Regions from separate parts of the Homo sapiens genome. Here region 1 is linked to region 2. Evidence: promoter capture Hi-C in human tissues and cell types (Jung and others, 2019). All regions are on one chromosome and are shown on one strand. Each heading gives the region's core, a stretch centred on a gene start or on the middle of the fragment in contact. The rest is flanking DNA. Distances are from core to core; before and after follow the strand shown.

The links. The method cuts DNA at HindIII sites, captures the fragments that hold promoters and counts their contacts. A contact is called where the count stands out against the background at its distance.
Region 1: a fragment that was not itself captured here is called in contact with the fragment with the promoter of CLVS2 in region 2 in 8 of the 25 tissues and cell types used here (aorta, bladder, heart left ventricle and 5 more).

What each region holds. Positions count from the first base shown.
Region 1 is chr6:122,950,348-122,954,972 of GRCh38, forward strand. No RefSeq gene overlaps it. Among named protein-coding and RNA genes, the nearest start is that of CLVS2, 44 kb to the right of the region's middle. The HindIII fragment of the contact is 7,241 bases long and covers 1-4,625 here.
Region 2 is chr6:122,993,134-122,997,765 of GRCh38, forward strand. CLVS2 (clavesin 2) reads left to right here and starts at 3,102. Exons shown (of 6, transcript NM_001010852.4): 1 at 3,102-3,613; 2 at 4,086-4,632. It overlaps LOC124901392 (a long non-coding RNA gene), which reads right to left and starts at 1,787. Exons shown (of 2, transcript XR_007059733.1): 1 at 1,449-1,787; 2 at 162-1,353. The HindIII fragment of the contact is 5,962 bases long and covers 1-4,632 here.

The sequences.
Region 1 (4,625 bases), core at 1,862-4,361, 43 kb before region 2:
AATATTGTGGGATTCAGCAAAAGCATTTCTAAAAGGAGAGCTTATACTAGTAAGTGCCTACATTTACAAAGTTTAAAGATCTTGAATAAACAACCTAACTTTACATTTTGAGGAACAAGAAAAACAAACTAAGCCCAAAGTTAACAAAAGCAAAGAAATAAATAATAAAGATTAGATCAGTATAAATTAAAAAAAGAAAAACAACAAAACATCAGCAAAACTAAAAGTTGGTTTTTTGAAAATATCAACGAATTGAAAAAGCTTTAGTTTGATTAAGAGAAAAAGAAAACACAAATGAAATAAGAAATGAAACAGGGTAACTTGTTAGCTTGAAAGTAGGAAGAAAATTTAAAAAAAGAAACGAAAGAGGAGACAATACAACAGAAATAAAAAGGACTACAATAAATTATGATGAACAATTATTTGTGATTGAATTAGGTAATCTAGAAGTGAATAAATTCCTCATACAGCTTACCAGAACTGAACACTGAAAAAATAGAAGATCTTAACAGACCTATAACTAGTAAGGGGATTGATCAGGAATCAAAAATATCACAACAAAGAAAAGCCCAGGGCCAGATGTATTTACAGACAAATTCTACTAAACATTTAAAAAATAACTATTGCCAATCCTCACACTATTAAAAAAAGTTTAAGAAGAGGGAAACCTTCATAATTTCTTTTATGTGGCTGGCATTAGCCAGATACCAAAGCTAGACAAAGACACTGCAAGAAAAGAAAACTATAGGAAATCAATAATTCAGTCAATCAATCAATCAATTAATCAATCAAACTATTCATTCCTGATGAATGTAGATGCAGAAATTCTCAATAAAATAATAGCAAGTTGAATTCAACAGTACATCAGAAGGATTATGCACCATGACCTTGTGAGATTTATCCCTGGGATGCAAGGATAATTCACCATATGAAAATCAATCAGTGTTATATACCACATTAACAGAAAGAAGGAGAAAAATTATTTGATCATCTCAATAGATGCAGATAAAGCATCTGACAAAATTCAATATTCTTTCATGATAAAAAAACACTTAACAAATAAGGAATAGAAGAAAATCAGATCAGCATAATAAAGACTTTATATGAAAAGCCCACAGCTAACATTACACTAAATGGAGAAAAACTGAAAGCTTTTTCTCTAAGATCTGGAACAAGACAAGGATACCCACTCTCATCACTTCTATTCAACATAGTACTGGAAGTCCTACTCAGGACAATTAGGCCAGAAAAAGAAATAAATGGCATCTAAATTAGAAAGAAAGACTTACAATTATGTCTGTTCTCAAAAGGCATGATGATATGTGTAGAAAACTCAAAGATCCTCCAAAAATTTTTAAAACTAATAAATACATTCAGCAAATTTTCAGGATACAAAATCAACACACAAAAATCTGTTGTGTTTCTATACACTAAAAACAAGCCAAAAAGGAAATTAAGAAATATTCCCATTTACAATAGCATCAGAAGGAATATTTCAACTTATACTTACGAATAAAGTTAACCAGTAGGCAAAAGATATATACACTGAACTATAAAACATTGCTGAAAAAAACTAAAGAAGTCTCAAGTAAATGGAAATACATCTCATATTGATGGGTTGAAGGAATTAATATTGTTAGAATGTCCACACTATGCAAAGTGATCTACAGATTTAATGCAATCTCTATCTCATATTCATATGAAACCACAAACAATCAAATAATTAAAACAATCTTGAGAAAGAAAAACAAAACTGGAGGCCTCAAACTTCCTGACTTTAAAACATATTATAAATCTATTCAATGCAATCTCTGTCAAAATCCCAATGAAATTTTTTTCCAAAAGAGAAAAAATTATCATATTCATATGAAACAACAAAGGATATTGAATAGCCAAACCAATCTTGAGAAAGAACAAAACTGGAGACCTCACCACTTCTGGCTTCAAAACACATTATAAATCCATAGTATTATAAACAGTATGACCCTAGCATAAATACAGATATTTAGGCAAATGAAACAAAATAGAGGGATCAGAAAGAAACCCACATATATATAGTCAAATGACCTTTGAGAAGCATGCCAAAACTACACAATGAAAAAAATATGTAGCACCCAATACTTCAATAAATGGTTCTGGGAAAATTGGATATCCACATGAAACAGAACAAAATTGAACCCTTATCTTACACCATACACAAAATCAACTCGAATTGGATTAAAAACTTAAGCTTCATTACACCGGTGTTGGGAATGCTTTCTTGATTATGACAGCAAAGGCACAGGCAGCAAAAGCACAGGCAACAAAAGCAAAAATAGACACGTGAGACTACTTTAAACTAAAAGCTTCTGCACAGCAAAGGAAAGATGGGTTAATATCCAAAATATATGAGAAACTTCCACAACTCAATATAAAAAAGCCTTTAAATGTTTAAAGGACTTTTTTTTTCAAAATAGACTTACAAGTGGTCAACAGGTATATAAAAAGATGCTCAGCACTCATCATAGGTGAAATGCGAATCAAAACCACAGTGGGATATGGCTTTACACCTGTTAGGATAGCAATTATTCAAAAACAAGAAGAACAGAAACAACAACCAGAAAATAGCAAGTGTTGGTAAGGATGTGGAGAAATTGGAATACTTGTGCACTGTTGGTGGGAATACAAAATGGGGCCGCTTCTATGGAAAACAGTACAAAAGTTCCTCAAAAAGTTAAAAATAAAACTACCACATGATCCAGCAACCCTACTTCTGGATACTTGTACAAAAAGTTGAAAACAGGATCTCAAAGGGGCATTTGTCCTCCTATGTTTATTCTGCATTATTCGCAAAGGCAAAATGGTAAAAACAACCTAAGTGTCAATGGATGAATAGTTAAAGACAATGTGGTATATACATATAAGAGAATATTATTCAGCCTTGAAAAAGAAATGTTCTATCATATGCTACAACATAAATGAACCTTGAAGACATTATGATAAGAGAAATGAGAAAGTCATAAAAGTACAAACACTATGTTTCCACTTATATGAAGTATCTAAAATCATCACACTCATAGAAGCAGAAAGTAGAGTAGTGAGTTAGTATCTTAAAAAGATATCTGCCTCTCATGTTCAATGCAGCATTATTCACAATAGCCAAAATATGGAAACAACCTAAGTGTCCATTGATGGATGACTGAATGAAGAAATTGTGGTATGTATATACAATGGAATATTCAGCCTTAAAAAAGAAGGATTTCCTGTCACTTGTGACAACATGGATGAACACAGAAGACATTACACTAAGTGAAATAAGTCAGACACAGAAAGATAAATACTGCATGATCTAATATGCAGAATCTAAAAAGTTTAACTCATAGAAACAGAGAGTAGAGATTCTGGCCAAGACAGGCAACTAGAAGTAGCTAGCGTGTGCTGCTCTCATAGAGAGAAGAGAGTGGTGAGTAAACACTTGCTCTTCAACTGGAACATCCAGAGGAACACATTGGGATTCATCAAGGAAGCAAAGCAACCCACAGAGAATGGGAGAAGAACAAGACTGGACAACTAACCAACCAGGAGTGGTGTGGAGCTAGGGGAGGCCTCCGACTGTGAGGAAACAATGAGTGAGAGTCCCTGGGGATTCACACTTCTTCCATGGATCTTTGCAATCTAGGCTCAGGAGATCCCCCATGAGTCACCCTACCTCCACTAGGGCCTCAGCTCATCCAGAAAAGAAGTCAATTGACTGTAATCAAATTACACCACTGTTAAAGAAACATCAGCCCACACAGATCAGAAAGAACCAGCACAAGAACATTGGCAGTTCAGTAAGCCAGAGTGTTTTCTTTCCTCCAAATGACCATACCATTTCCATAACAAGGGCTCTTAACCAGGATGAAATGGCTGAAATGATAGATACAAAATTCAGAATATGTATAGGAAGATCATCGACTTTTGGAAGAAAGTAGAAATCCAATACAAAGAAACTAAGGATTACAATAAAATAATACAAGAGCTGAAAGACAAAATGGCCATTATAAAAAATAACCAAACTGATCTGATAGAGCTGAAAAACACACAACAAGGATTTCATAATACAGTCACAAGTTTTAACAGCAGAATAGACTAAGCTGAGGAAAATCTCAGATTCTGAAGATTGGTTCTTTGAACTAACTCAGTCAGACAAAAATAAAGAAAAAATTTAAAAAGAATAAAAAAATTCCAAGAAATATGGAATTATGTAAAAAGACCAAATATATGATTCATTGACATCCCCAAAAAAGAGGGAGAGTAAACAAGCATCTTAGAAAACATATTTGAGGTTATGGTCCATGAAAATTTCTCTAGCCTCACTGGAGAGGCCAACATTCAAATTCAGAAAATGCAGAGAACCCCTGTGAAATACTATGTAAGATAACTATCCCCAAGACACAATCATTAGATTCTCCAAGGTCAATATGAAAGAAAAATATTAAAGGCAGCTAGAGAAAAGGGGCAGGTCACCTACAGAGGGAAATCCATCAAGCTAATAGCAGAACTTTCAGCAGAAATCTAAAATGCTGGAAGAGAGTGGGGTTCTATATTAGGCATTTTTAAAGAAAAGAAATTCCAACCAAGGATTTCATATCCAGCCAAACTAG
Region 2 (4,632 bases), core at 1,852-4,351:
GGAGAATCACTTGAACCTGGGAGGCGCAGGTTGCAGTGAGCCAGGATCACCCCATTGCACTCCAGCCTGGGTGACAGAGGGAGACTCCGTCTCAGGAAAAAAAGAAATGCAATTTTATGCACCATTACTGAATATGAGGGAGCTGCTACATACAACAACACTGACAAAGACAAATCACACAAATTTAATATTGAATGAAAGAGGTCAATCATAACATTACATATAAATGATTACATTTAAGTTCAGAAACAGAAAAACAAAATTGTAGTTATTTAGTTGGTAAAATTTAAAAAAAACAAACAAGGATTACTTTTAAAATAAAGACAGTGTGGCTTCCTTTGTTGGAAAGAGGCCAGTAGTTAGGAGGGGAATGGGAGGGGGCTTTCTGGCTACTGACAATGCTTGGTTTCTTAACCTGGTTGGACACTTACATGTGTGTTTCCCTTGTAAGATAGAATTGAGCCGTACATCTTTATTTTGTGCTCCTTTTTGTGCATATATTTTATTTAACAATAAAGGGAATAAAATGTTTTAAAACATAAAGTACTTACTCTACTCATTTTAAATATAGCAGTAAACCAAACTTTTCTTTCTAGTTACTTGAAAACACCTGAAGTCCTTGATTTAATTATTTTTCCAATAATGCTTTAATTAATACTTTTGTTTAGATAATTTATTCTCATATTCCAGTTCCTACATTACTTTGCATTAATTTGGCAAGGTAGATTAATATTGAATGAAAATCAAATGCTCTGATGTCATCTGAATAAACACCTTGTTTAATTTTAGATGGCTTCGTGTATTCATTTTGGTTTCAGAACTGAGTTCAAATGTATAAGTAGAGAGAGAATAACAGTATAATCACTAAAGTTTTGTAAATATGATTTAAAAATCTTATATATACCTAACTGACCTGCTCCAACAATCCTACTGGGTGATAGAGACTATTTCTATCATATGTAGATATGTTAAAATAAATCTATTTGAAGCAATTCTGTTATTGGTAAATAATAAATAATAAAAATGTCATCCTTCAACCTTCAATACTGGTCATAACATATGCTGGGCCAAAAAATACATTTTATTTTATAAATTCCCTTAAAAATATAGTCTAATATGTCCATCTCAGAGAACAAAATTAAACAACTGTTTTTTCATCAAGGTGAAAGATCTGAATTTTAACTTCACTTACAGGCTAACAAGTTAGCTGGCTGTAGTTTCATGGATGCCGATGGAAGATGCAAAACTCTTGGCTTCGAGATAAAGGATTTTGTCACTCAGGCATAGCGGGCAGTATGAGCATCTGCATATCTTGCATTGACTGGTCCCCTGAGCTCTAATTCCCACAGATAGCTAAGAAAAGAGGATCAAGTGATACTGGCATAAACAATGGGTGGCATTACAGCAGAATAGCTCTGAGTTTAGGGAATTCAAATAAGCTTGCCTACCTTTTGGTCAGGAGAGAGATATCACAGCTTTCAAGGCTTTGTTTCAGATGGAGGTACTATCTCTATCTTCCAATATCTTCCAAGACTATTTACTGTACAAATACCCTTGAGAAGACAGTCTAGAAAAAAGGGCAATTAGTGCCTTGGTCATAAGACAGGTAGAAACACAACGGATCCAGGGAGAATTGTCTCTCCATGTTGGTGATGACTAAAACTTCTTCATACAGTTGATACGAAACATAAATTTTCTTCAACCTCTAAAATATTAGAAAAAATGATTTTTTCAAATGTTTTAAAATGAGAACCAAAAATTTAACAGTTCACATTGCATTCAGCATGCTTGAGAAAGTCATAATCACTTAAAATCCTAGAAGGACCTTATATATAGTGCATATATATAACACACATATACACACACTTAAGTGGTTTATTTTCTGCCTTCCCCATTTAAAACATAAATTCCTTGACAATAATGACTGTGTGTGTGTGTGTGTGTGTGTGTGTAATTTATTGTCTTATTCGGGTTCCTACATTAATTTGCATTAATTTAATTAATAAATGCTCTAGCTCTACCATACAACCCTTTTCCTTCTTTCTTTTTATCAACACCATCGCCATGAGAAGAGCAAAAACAAGTGTGCCTGTATTTTGAGGGTTCTCATAGTCATCAACATTGAAAATGACAAGATAAGAAATGTCAAGATAAGAAAATGACAAAATTTGCTTATCTTCAAGACCACCTCCTATACACAGAATGCAGAAAAATGCCCCACACCTCGTGGAACTCAGTAAATATTAGTTGCATTGAATTAACTTCAATTCAAGACCCCATTCTACAGTTTATAAAGTCAAAAGTTGCTCTTAGTAACACGCTCAGTAATATGTGCTGTGTTTTGAAAATAGAAAATATCCCTTTTCCTCAAATCCATAGATAGTCATATTAAGCGCAAGGACTTCTGTTTATTTATAATGATTCTCATATACAGATGCATACAACTGAAGGAAGGATGGTATGTGTTTCCAGAAATATTTGCTTTATGATGAGATATGAGTGAAGTTCCTATTTTTTTCTTCCTTTGAGAATTATGTTTTTATTATCATTTACCCTAGTGCTCATTTTCATCCTCTTCAACAGAAATTTAGCAGGGAGACTGGTTGAAAAACTATTCATATAAGTTCCTCCGGAGGCTTAATCATCAGTACATTGTCTTGGAACCACTCTGGTGTTTTCTAAATTAAATATCTCTGTCTACAACAAATGCGAAAAGTACAGAATGTTTCCGTACTCCTTCTACATCAAAATTGCCTCCTACAGGAACGAGAAAATGCGTGTCAATGTGAATTACCGTCTACAACAGCTACTCTCCAGGCTGATCTGGGGTCTTGCACACAAAGGGCGAAGAGAGGGGCGTGGGGAGGCTGGAAAGCATGGTTGCCCCGCCTGGCCCGGCGACGCCCGCTCAGCAGCCTGCTGAGGAGTGGGGACGAAGAGCAGCCTAAACTTAGGGCTCGGGATATTTCGATGCCACCCAAATTGCCGTCCTACCCCAACGAGGCAGGGAAAGGAGCGGAGCGCGCGCGCGAGCTGAGTGAGTGCTTACGTCGCAGCGAGATCTGTGCTGGGATAATTAGAGAGGAGTTGGGCTGAGCCGAGTCCTCTTTCAGCAGCAGCAGCCGGAGCCGCCGCCGCAGCCCGGTGGGGCAACCCTGACTCGGACCGCTCGGGAGAGCCCCAGGAGAGGCCAGCGCCGCGCAGCAGCCGCCCCGCTGCGCCCACCTCCCCGGCTGCTCCCGGAGGGCTCACAAAGGCGGTGGCCGCCCGAGTGGCCTTCTCCATCCAGGCGTTCGCGTCCTCCTCCCCACCTTCTCTCCCGAAGGCGAAAATGGCAGGGCCAGGCGAGAACCTGGGACAGCGGTGGCCCTAGCCCTGCGATCCTCACCCCTCCTGCTAGGAGAGGCTGCGGGCTGCCCGCGGACGATGTGGCCGCGGCTGCTCCCGAGCGCATCTTCGGCCCGGGTCCCCGCCGCCACCCCTCTTCTCTGCTCCTTCCATCCCGCCCAGAGGAGTTGATGCCGCTGTCGCCGCCGCCGCCGCTGCTGAAGCCGCGGCTGATGGATGCCAGGGAGTGCCGCATTGCTTAGCGACCCCGCCTCTGGGTTTGCTGGTAGGAGCGGCTGCTCTTTCTTCTTTCTTGCTTTGGGGTTTTATAGAAAAGATAAGGACATTTTTATTTTATTCTTCACAACGTCCTCCCCTTCTCTTCGTTTTTGAAATGTGCATTCCCAGAGATATCCCCGGTCCCCTCCCTCCCCCTCCCCCCTTTTCTCCAACCCCGCGGCAAGTCCGTGGAAATGAAGGGCTAGAGGAAGGCAGAAGTTGGGGGTGGGGTTGGGGGAGCCCACGCTGGTACCAACGCCACCAGAACCCCTGCTGGTGCCTTATGAGATCACGGTGTATCTCAGAGGGGTGGTGGGAAGGTGCGCTATCTGCAGAGTCTTCACCTAATTGGATCACAATAATCTTAAATAAATCACACAAATTTGTCTTTTAAAAATAGCGTCTTTGAATAAGTACAGGGAGAAATAATCTCCTTTCTCCCCCCTCTTTCTCTCTGTCTCTTTTTCTTTCTGGCAAAGATGATCTCTCTCCGCCCTGGAGCTCAGCGCTGAAGAGCTACCTTATTATTAATCAGAATTTCCATCGCCACCCCTGGCAGGCGTATCCTTCAGCAGGGACCGCAGGAACATTCACAGTGCAGGGGCTGAGATGTGCGTGGGGGTTGTTTTTGTTACATCTTGGAAGAGAAGAGAAGAGGACAGTACCAAGATCAGAAACACCCGTGCTAGGTGGAATTAGGGGTGATTTGTTAGGAAAGAGAAAGGACAAGAAGAGGAGTGCGGAGCCCTTCAGGGGTTCACATCTCTTTAAAGGAAAGGAAAGAGGGAGCCAAAGTAGGGTGTTGTATTTTAGGGGGCAGAGGAAGAAGTTTACACCCCCCGGCCCCCCCAGCTTTGCTGGGGGAAAGCAGGAGCAACAGGGCACTTGATTGGACACCAAGATTATTAATTTCCTGTAGGGGAGAGGAAGCAGGCAGCAGGAGGTCTGGGGGCTGGAGTCTGGTGGTGGCAAGGACCAGGTTTGCTTTGGGACAGTCAACAAGGTCTTCTGAGGGAAAGCTCAGAG